Regions from separate parts of the Homo sapiens genome. Here all the other regions are linked to region 1. The links are contacts of gene promoters, found by promoter capture Hi-C in blood cells and fetal thymus (Javierre and others, 2016). All regions are on one chromosome and are shown on one strand. Each heading gives the region's core, a stretch centred on a gene start or on the middle of the fragment in contact. The rest is flanking DNA. Distances are from core to core; before and after follow the strand shown. Region 1 holds the start of STT3B (STT3 oligosaccharyltransferase complex catalytic subunit B). Region 2 has its middle 47 kb from the start of MIR466. Region 3 has its middle 63 kb from the start of MIR466.

The links. The method cuts DNA at HindIII sites, captures the fragments that hold promoters and counts their contacts. A CHiCAGO score of 5 or more calls a contact.
Region 2: a fragment that was not itself captured here is called in contact with the fragment with the promoter of STT3B in region 1 in 4 of 17 cell types (fetal thymus, non-activated CD4 T cells, naive CD4 T cells and 1 more); the score reaches 8.0 in fetal thymus.
Region 3: a contact is called between a fragment that was not itself captured here and the fragment with the promoter of STT3B in region 1, in 8 of 17 cell types (non-activated CD4 T cells, fetal thymus, naive CD4 T cells and 5 more). The highest score is 9.7, in non-activated CD4 T cells.

What each region holds. Positions count from the first base shown.
Region 1 is chr3:31,531,514-31,534,587 of GRCh38, reverse strand. It overlaps STT3B (STT3 oligosaccharyltransferase complex catalytic subunit B), which reads right to left and starts at 1,663. Exons shown (of 16, transcript NM_178862.3): 1 at 1,276-1,663. The coding sequence starts at 1,589. RefSeq lists enhancers at 931-990, 1,841-1,980 and silencers at 1,151-1,300, 1,381-1,510, 1,541-1,770, 2,081-2,340. The HindIII fragment of the contact is 5,534 bases long and covers 1-3,074 here.
Region 2 is chr3:31,206,991-31,210,064 of GRCh38, reverse strand. No RefSeq gene overlaps it. Among named protein-coding and RNA genes, the nearest start is that of MIR466, 47 kb to the right of the region's middle. The HindIII fragment of the contact is 4,070 bases long and covers 1-3,074 here.
Region 3 is chr3:31,223,428-31,226,501 of GRCh38, reverse strand. No RefSeq gene overlaps it. Among named protein-coding and RNA genes, the nearest start is that of MIR466, 63 kb to the right of the region's middle. The HindIII fragment of the contact is 700 bases long and covers 1,091-1,790 here.

The DNA of each region.
Region 1 (3,074 bases), core at 414-2,913:
TCTATATAGTTAGTAACTCTCAAAAAAGACTCTCTCTCTTTGAATCTCAAATGATGAAACAAATATCCTGAAATTTAATTAGGTCTAACTGTGAGGAAGTAAGATTAACTCAAGGTTGACAGGTCAATAAGATAACACTAGTTTAAAAGGCATACTCTCAGAGGGGAAAATCCTAACTCAGGGGGAAAAATCCTAACTCGGGTTGGGCAAGTTGCGAAAAAAAAGTTAAAGCAATCTTTCCATCTAGATAATTCACAGACCAATGTAGTGTCTAAGTTAGCTAGTGTTGTTAAGAGTGGGGTAATTTCCTAAAACATTCAGGTCAGTCCCTTACACCATGTGCAACTTCGGTATTACAATCTAGGACTCCCATCACCGTGGTACTGTTTGCTCTTATCCACAAACCTTCCTGCAGACCAATAAAGGAACTAATGCAATGCTTTCAGATACTGTGCATAACACACTAAGGGTGACAGTGGCTAACAGGGTAAGGATCTTGTTCTAAAAAGCAACCCAAGACGATAGTGAAACAGTAAGGTGCTGAGTGCACTTAAGAGCTCTGAAAAAAAGCCACTCTTTAAAATACCTAATGATAAATAAATAAGAGTAGCTAGCTTTCAGATCACTTTCAGGGGTATTATTTCCTTCCCTCCAACACGCCATTCACTCTCCTTTTCCCTTCTCGTATCATGAGAGCATAAAAAGAAACAGTAAAAGCGTAAAACTGCAAGGGTGAGCAGCCGGGGTTCCGGCACATCTGGACCCACCTCCAGCGGCAACAGGGCAGCCCCCCTGGCCGATTCCGTCTGAACTAGCAAAAACGCGCCCGCAAATATGAAAGAACGCGAAAGCAGCGGGCGAGGAGGGCGGGGAATCGACCGACAGTCCGCGGAGGAGCTACCTGCCGCCTCCTGGCGTGGCGGGTCCGGACTCAGCGACCAAAGCGGGCTGCGAGGGACTGCACCCACACTCCCGGCGGCTGCACCCACACTCCCGGCGGCTGCATCCACACTCCTGGCAGTCTTCACACTAGCCCGGCCGAGAATCAAGGTTTCGCTCCTGGACCCCGACGCCCCGCCTCAGGCTGCACGGGGCAAACTTCGCCCACGGGCAGGGGGCGCGCCCGGAGCTCCGGGATCCGCGCCGGCCTCAGCCAGGACGCGAGCGGGGCTCCGCGGCGGCGCGGGGCCAAGTCGAGGAGAGCTGCGGCGGGCGGAGGAGCGGGTCCCGGTTCCCCGCGGGCCACGGGCGGGGGAGGGGCGGCGAGGCACTTACCACGGGTCGAACTCGTGGATGATGCTTTCGAAGCGGATGACGGCGAAGAGGCGCGAGCTGAAGCCGGCAAGCCAGGCCAGGAAGAGGATGGTGAAGGAGAGAAGCGACTGCCACCCAGCCGGCTGCGACAGCCCCCCGGACAGCCCCGCCGGGGCCGGCTTCGGCGGCGCCGCGCCGCCCGCCGCCTTGTGCGCGCACTGGGCCCCGGGCCCGTGGTGGCCGTGCCGGCTGTTTCCCAGGGCCATGAGGCCACTCCACGGGGACGAGTTGAGGGACGACTTGTGCTTGCTCTCCGGGGCCGAGGGCTCCGCCATGTTGTGCCCCGGCGGCGGGTCTAGCTCTCCTCCTCCGCCGCCGCCGCCTGGTGCGAGGGGTGCTGGGCGGGGACCCGGAGGAGGAGGAGGAGGAGGAAGAAAAAGGAGGAGGGAAGAGCTCTGCGCGCTCCCGCCCTCAGCGCCGCGAGGCCGGCGGACTGGGGGTGGAGGAAGCGGCGGCGGGGAGTCTCCGCCTCAGCAGCGGCCGCAATCGCCGCTCTCTCAACCCAGATGGCCCCGGCGCCCCACTAGCCATCCGTATCCCCAGTGCAGCTGCGGCGGCGGCGGCGAAAGCCGACGGGACGAGGGCGCCAGGAAAGAAGCAGCAGACGGAGGCGGCACCACGGCTCTGAGAAGCAATGACATTCCCTCTCTAGCCCGCCGCCCGCCCAGCCGAAAGGAGCAGGGGGAGGAGCCCCCTGGAGTCCGGGCGGAGCTCAAGCAACCTCTGACTCCGCCTCCGGCCCGACAGGAACTGGCCCCTCCGCCTGTCACAAAGCGACAGGTCCGTTAGGGGGCGGGCCCAGAACCGCTGCGCCCACCAATAGGGGCGCGAGCTGGGGCGGAGCTTGACCCAACCGTCTCCCCCTCCCCCCCACCATCCCGGCCTCGCGCCGATTCGCCCGGAGTGGCCGAGCTGCGCGGCTACGGCTTCATTGTCAGTTGAAAGACGCGGTTTCGCGCGCCTGTGCGGTCGGCGAGAAAGGGTACTAGGCGGCTCCGCTAGGTTCATGGAGCTGAGCTGGGCCGAGGGGCGGGAACTGCGGAGCGGCCTCGGTCAAACTCGTCTTAAAGGACGCGGAAAGCGCCGCACCGACCAGCAGGACGCTCGCGGGCTCTCCGCGGTCGTGACTTTTAACCCGCTTTGCGCGGAGCCCTCACCACGTGACGGCCGCGCAGGCGCATTATCCTAGCCCTCGGCGCGTGGGTCGGGCCGAGGGGTTCAGCAGCCCGTGGCGCTCCTCGGCTGGCGCTGCGAGTGAGCCCGCGGCGGCAGTGACACAGCCTACCTTGCTCATTGCCCTTCACGTCCCGCCTCCGGCTTCTGCGGCCGCGGGAATCCGAGAATGTGAGCAAAGACAAGTTTTCCGACACCGAAAACTCGTTGGAACCGGCAAGCGCGCCCCTAGCTCCGGCAGGCAAAATGCGACCTTCTCTCGCCCTTTTTCGTTTGTACTCCGAATTGCGAAAGTACTGTATGTTCACTGGAAATATGGGAAAATGCAGAAATACATTAACGGCTGCATACATTCCGTCGAGTGAGTGAAACTAACTTACCCTGGACGTTAAGCTGTTTCCAGTTCTCACTTTACTAAATAATAATAGAACGAAGGTTCTTGTGCACGTCTACCTTGTATTTTTATAATTCCTTTCCTTTCCCCACTTCCCTCCTTGTCCGCTAAAATAAAGTGCTACCAGATAAACTCAGGGCAAAATGAGCTTAAACTAAGTGAGGTAGTGGGGAGACTCGAATTGCTCTTATAT
Region 2 (3,074 bases), core at 331-2,830, 320 kb after region 1:
ATAGCATAAAATTTACCATCCTAATATTTTATATATACACTTAAATGGTATTAAATACACTCATAATGTGCAACCATCACCACCATCCATCTCCATAGCTCCTTTCATTCACCACCATCCATCTCCATAGCTCCTTTCATTTTGTAGAACTGAAACTCTATACCTATTAAAAATAACTTCCTCACTGGGGCCTGTTGGGGAATGGGGGGCTAGGGGAGGGATAACATTAGGAGAACCACTTAGTGTAAGTGACCGGTTGATGGGTGCAGCAAACCACCAGGGCACATGTATACCTATGCAACAAAACTGCATGTTCTGCCCATGTAACACAGAACTTAAAGTATAAAAACAAAAACAAAACTTCCTATTCTTGCTCTTCCCCAGTCCCTGGCAATCATCATTCTACTTTCTGTTTCTATGAGTTTGACAACTCTAAGTACCTCATGTAAATGGGAGCATATAGTATCTGTCTTTTTGTGATTGGCTTGCTTCACTTAGCATAATATCCTTACGGTTCATCCATGTTGTAGGTTCATCCTTTTTATGGTTGAATAATATTCCATTACATGTATACACCACATTTTGCTTATTCATTCATTGGTTGGTGAAAACTGGATTGCTTCCACATTTAGCTGCATGGACATGGATGTTCAAATATCTACTGGAGACTCTGCTTTAAATTCTTTTGGGTACATACCCAAAAGTGGAATTGCTGGGCCATATGGTAATACTATTTTTTTTGTTTTTGTTTTTGTTTTTGAGGAACTGCTGTAATCTTTTCCATAGGGACTGTATCATTTTATAGTCCCACCACCAGTGCATAAGGGTTCCAATTTCTCCACTCTGACAACACTTATTATTTTCTGTTTTTTTGAGAGTAGCCATCCTAATGGATGTGAGGTGAGATTTTATTATATTTGCATTTCTCTAATGATTAGTGACGTTGAGCATCTTTTAAATATTTATTGGTTATTTGTATAATAGTCTTTGGAGAAATATCCACTGATGTCTTTTTCCTATTTTAAAAATTGAGGGTTTTTTATGGTTGTGGCTGATTTGGGGAATTCTGTATATGTTTTGAATATTAATCCCTTATCGGATATATGATTTGTAAGTATTTTTTCTCATTCTGTGAGTTGCCTTTTTTTTTTTTTACCTTGTTGATAGTGTCTTTCAATGCACAATAAAAAGATATGTTTAATAGACTCCAGTTTGTTTATTTTTTCTTTTGTTGCCTGTCTCTTGGATGTCATATCCAAGAAGTCATTGCTAAATCAAATGTCATAAAACTTTGCTCTATGCTTTCTTCTAAAGGTTTTATAGATTTAGGTCCTACCTAAGGTATTTGATTCATTTTGAATTAATTTTTGTATATACTGTTAGGAAAGGTTGGAACTTCATTCTTTTGCTTGTGGATATCTAGCTCAGCATAGTTTTTAATAAACATAGGCAAGTTTATTTTAAAATTTACATGGAAATGCACAGCACCTAGAAAGCTGAAATATTTTTTAAAAGAATAACTAATGGGAGAAAATTACCTCATATTAATGCTTACTATGTAGCTATAGTAATCAAGACAAATGTAGTGTTTGTGGAGGGACAGACAGGTAGATCAAGGGAACAGAATAGAGAACACAGATATAGACCCTTATAGATGACTGATTTTTTGACTATATTAGTCTATTCTCACACTGCTAATACAGACATACCCAAGACTGGGTAATTTATAAAGAAAAAGAGGTTTAATGAACTCACAGTTCCACATGGCTGGGGAGGCCTCACAGTCATGGCAGAAGGCAAAGGAGGAGCAAAGGCGTGTCTTACATGGTGGCAGGCAAGGGAGCATATGCAAGGGAACTGCCCTTTATAAAACCATCAGATCTTGTGAGACTTATTCACTATCACGAGAACAGTGTGGGAAAAACCTGCCCCATGATTCAACTGCCTCCCACCGGGTCCCTCCAGTGACATGTGGGTATTACGGGAACTACAATTCAAGATGAGATTTGGGTGGGGACACAGCCAAACCATAGCATCAACAAAGGTGCAATAACAATTCAGTGGGGGAAAAATGGTGTTTTCAACAAGAGGTGTTGGAGCAATTGGACATTCATGGGCTAACAATAGGAAAAAAAGAACCTCAATCTAAACCTCATACCTTATACAAAAATTAACTCAAAGTGGACCATAGGTTTACATGTAACATGTAAAACTATAAAACTTCTAGAAAAAAAAAAGAAGAAACTCTTGAAAACCTAAGGCTAGCAAAGCATTCTTAGACCAGTTAGCAAAAACATGATTCATTAAAGAAAAAAGTGATAAAAAGAGCTTCACCAAAACTAAAAACTTTTGCTCTGCAAAGACTCTGTTAGGGAGATGAAAAAACAAGCTATAGACTGGGAGAAAATATTTGCAACCCACATAGTTGACAAAAGACATACCTAGAACATATAAAGAGCTCTTAAAACTCAACAATAAAAATTGAACAAAGAATCCAATTTGATAATGGGAAAAATGCATGAACATATATTTCACTAACAAGAATATACAGATGGGAAATAAGCATGTGAAAAAGACGTTCAGCATTGTTACACATCCAGGAAATGCAATGCAAATTAAATTCACAATAAGATATAGCTACACATTTATTAGGGAAAGGCGTAGAGAAACTCATGTATTGCTGTGATAATGTAAAATGGTATAGTCACTCTAGAAAATTATTTGGCATCTTCTTATAAAACTAATATAGACCTAACATACAACCCAGAAATTACACTTTTGGACATTTATCCCAGACAAATGCAAAGTTATAATCATACACAAATCTACATTAATGTTCATAGCAGCTTTATTTGATACAGCTCAAGGCTGGAAACAATCCAAACATGTGTCAGTGGGTAATTGGTTGAACAAATTATAGCACATCTATACCATGGAATATTGCTAAGCAATAAAAAGGACCAAAGTGCTGATACATGCAACAACTTGCATAGATCGCAAATGAATTATGTGGAGTTGAAAAAGCTAATCTCAAAGGTTATACTATGTGATTTCCTTTATATAACCTTCTTATA
Region 3 (3,074 bases), core at 191-2,690, 310 kb after region 1:
GCAGGATGGTAGCAGCTTCCTGCAGTTGTTAATCTCTGTGCTGCCTCACTGTGTTCTGTTTGTCTCCTCAGTTATTATAACCCTTGGCTAAACCATTCTCTAGTAAAATTCCCCCCATGTGAGTGGAGCAAACGGTTCCTGGTTTCCTGGCTGGATCGGACTGATATGCCATGGCAGAGGTTAGCGAACTTTTTCTATAAAGGGTCAGATAGTAAATATTTTAGGCTTTGTGGGCCAGGAAGCAAAATCGAGGTACTAATTATGAAGGTATTTATATAACAAGAGGGAAAACAAATTTCCACAAGTTATTTTAGCTCACAGACCATACAAAAGCAGGTGCAGGCTAGAATTGGCCAGCAGGAAAGGACAAGATGAACCAGTTAACCAGCTACTCCAACAACCCAGGCAAGAGTGGGTGGTGACTTGGACAAGGATGTTGGCCCTGAGATGGTATATGGTGGTTGGCTTGGAGTCATATTCTCTGTCTTAAAGCCAGAGTGATTGTCCTGAAATACAAACCTGATCATGTCACTGAGTAAAACCATCCCAAAGTCCTAGATTGTTCACAACGTAGTTAGTGAGCTCTATGGACTCAGTAGCCATCTATTCCAAACCCCCATATGAGAACGCTAATGGGATGAGGAAGAACCAAGGAAAAGAGGGGGAAGTGGTGCAGTCTGTTTCTGTGTGGCAGCAGGGAAGAGGGATGAACAACAATTAATTTGGATGGATTTGGAGCTGAAAGGAGTTACTGTCTGTCTATAATTCTTTCCCTTCATTCCAGATTTCAGGACTTTCAAGGCCAGCAGTTTGAGGGATTTGCTGCTAGCCCAGTTAAATTAAAAAAGGTGAATGTGTATTTTCATGTAGAGCTCACTCTGATGGGAGAGGGTCATTGTCATTTTAAATTACAATTTACTTCCAGTGCAGTGTTACTTCTTTCCAATGAGTGTGTTACCCTCCAAGCATCCTGGGCCCCAAGAATGGCCTGGGGCACCCTTCTCACTCCTGACCCCACACAAGGCCCAGGCTCCTGGCACTTCTTTTCCTTAGTATGCAAGGAATTCCCATCCCACACACCTTTAAAGCTTAACCTGAGGCACATGGAGAGAAGTCCGGGATCTATAAACTTGGATTAAAAAATTATTTATTTTCACGAACATCCGAATGAAACTTAGCACTTCTTTCTGTGATAAATGTAGGTGAGAAACCCACCATAAAACAGTTCCAGGCCGGGCACAGTGGCTCACACCTGTAATCCCAGCACTTTGTTAGGCCGAGGTGGGTGGATCACCTGAGGTCAGGCATTCCAGACCAGCTTGGCCAACCTGGCAAAACCCCATCTCTACTAAAAATACAAAAGGTTAGCCGAGTGTGGTAGATGCGTGCCTGTAATTCCAGCTACTTGAGAGGCTGAGGCAGGAGAATCACTTGAGTCTGGGAGGCGGAGGTTGCACTGAGCAGAGATTGCACCACTGTACTCTAGCCTGGGCAGCTGAGTGAGACTCTATCTCAAAAAAAAAAAAAAAAAAGAATTAGCAGTTTCAGCACATATTATACAGATATTTTCATACCACACAGCTATTGTAGATATTTTGAAATATTCATTACTTCCATAAGTCTAAGTTATTGCACCCACCACTATATCTTATTAACGTTTAATAAAGACACACAACTATCAGTACATCACCAATTTTTTTTTAAATATCTTGTTAGCTGTATTCTTTTGTTATCCTTAGTATTTATTTTATATTCATAAAAACATTGTTCAGGGAAGGTGCTTATAAGCTTCACCAGTCTCCCAAATCCTAAAGAAGAGCCCAGTCCCACCCCTCAGTGTTTCCACTCACAAGAAATATCAGTGGATGGTGTTCGTCCCAGTTGGGGACAGGTATAAAGCCGAGTTCTCCTTCCTTAAGCACCTCATGCTTAAGAGGGAGCCAACTGTGCTCCCAGCCTTCTCCAGCACAGAAGCACTTAGTTAATTGTGCTGAACTCAGGGCCAGACCTCAGGGAGGGAGAAGCAGCTTGTCTGGGCCGCTTTGGCAATCAATTATTCCCCCAAGCAGAAAGATTGATAGCTTCTGCATATCTTGGCCCAGCTAATAATATCGCAGATGCTGTTTTAATTCCAAAGCACAGAGCCACCCCCAGACTTTCTTTTTAACCTCTCTGCCTAAAATGGGACGTAGTGGAGTGGCTTTCAGAGACAAAGTGACTATGCCACTTTGGGTCCATTTTAATACTTACGCATCATGATTCTGTTCATTTCCACAGCTCACCTACTTTCTGGCTACCAATTTGGATTTTATCCCACCCTTTGGTTACATTTCTCAATTTCATTTATTTATTTATTTATTTATTTATTTATTTATTTATTTTTTATTTTTTATTTTATTTTTTTTTCTTTAGCTCAAACAATCTCCTTCCCTGAATGTTCTGAAATTGCCTTTTCTCCTACTGGAAACCCCTGGATATTTTCTTGTCCTTCTCTGGACCTCTCTAATCCTTGATAGGGCTTGAGAAAACAGAGGTCTCTGAGTCTGAGCGATGGGCTGGGAGTGGGGAAATGGGAATTGGTTATTGTTTTCCTCCTGCTAGTTGTTCAGAGACACTTGCAACCCTGCAGGGCCCTGAAAAGACCTTTTGAACAGATTTCTCCATGACATTGCTGAGAACTTATCCCTGATAATATGGTCATTTCCAAGTTCAGCCTGAAAGCTCAGAAGTTTAACTAACAGTTTCTGGCAAGAAGTCTGTGATTAAAAGTGTTCAACTTTCCCACTGTGATTGCCTAGAACTTAGCTGCCTTCCTCTCACTATTTGCTCATTTACCCTCTCCTTCTGTCCTTCTAGTATCTCCAGGGGATTTCTCCTCCCCACCCCCCAAGAGTCAAATAGAGCAGGGGGCCCCAACTCCTGGGCCACGAATTATTAGGAACTGGGGCTACACAGCAGGAGGTGAGCAGCCAGCCAGTGAAGCTTCATCTATATTTACAGCCACACCCAATTGCTCCCATAACCGCCTGAGCTTCACCTCCTGTCAGATCAAGGGCAGCATTAGATTCTCATCG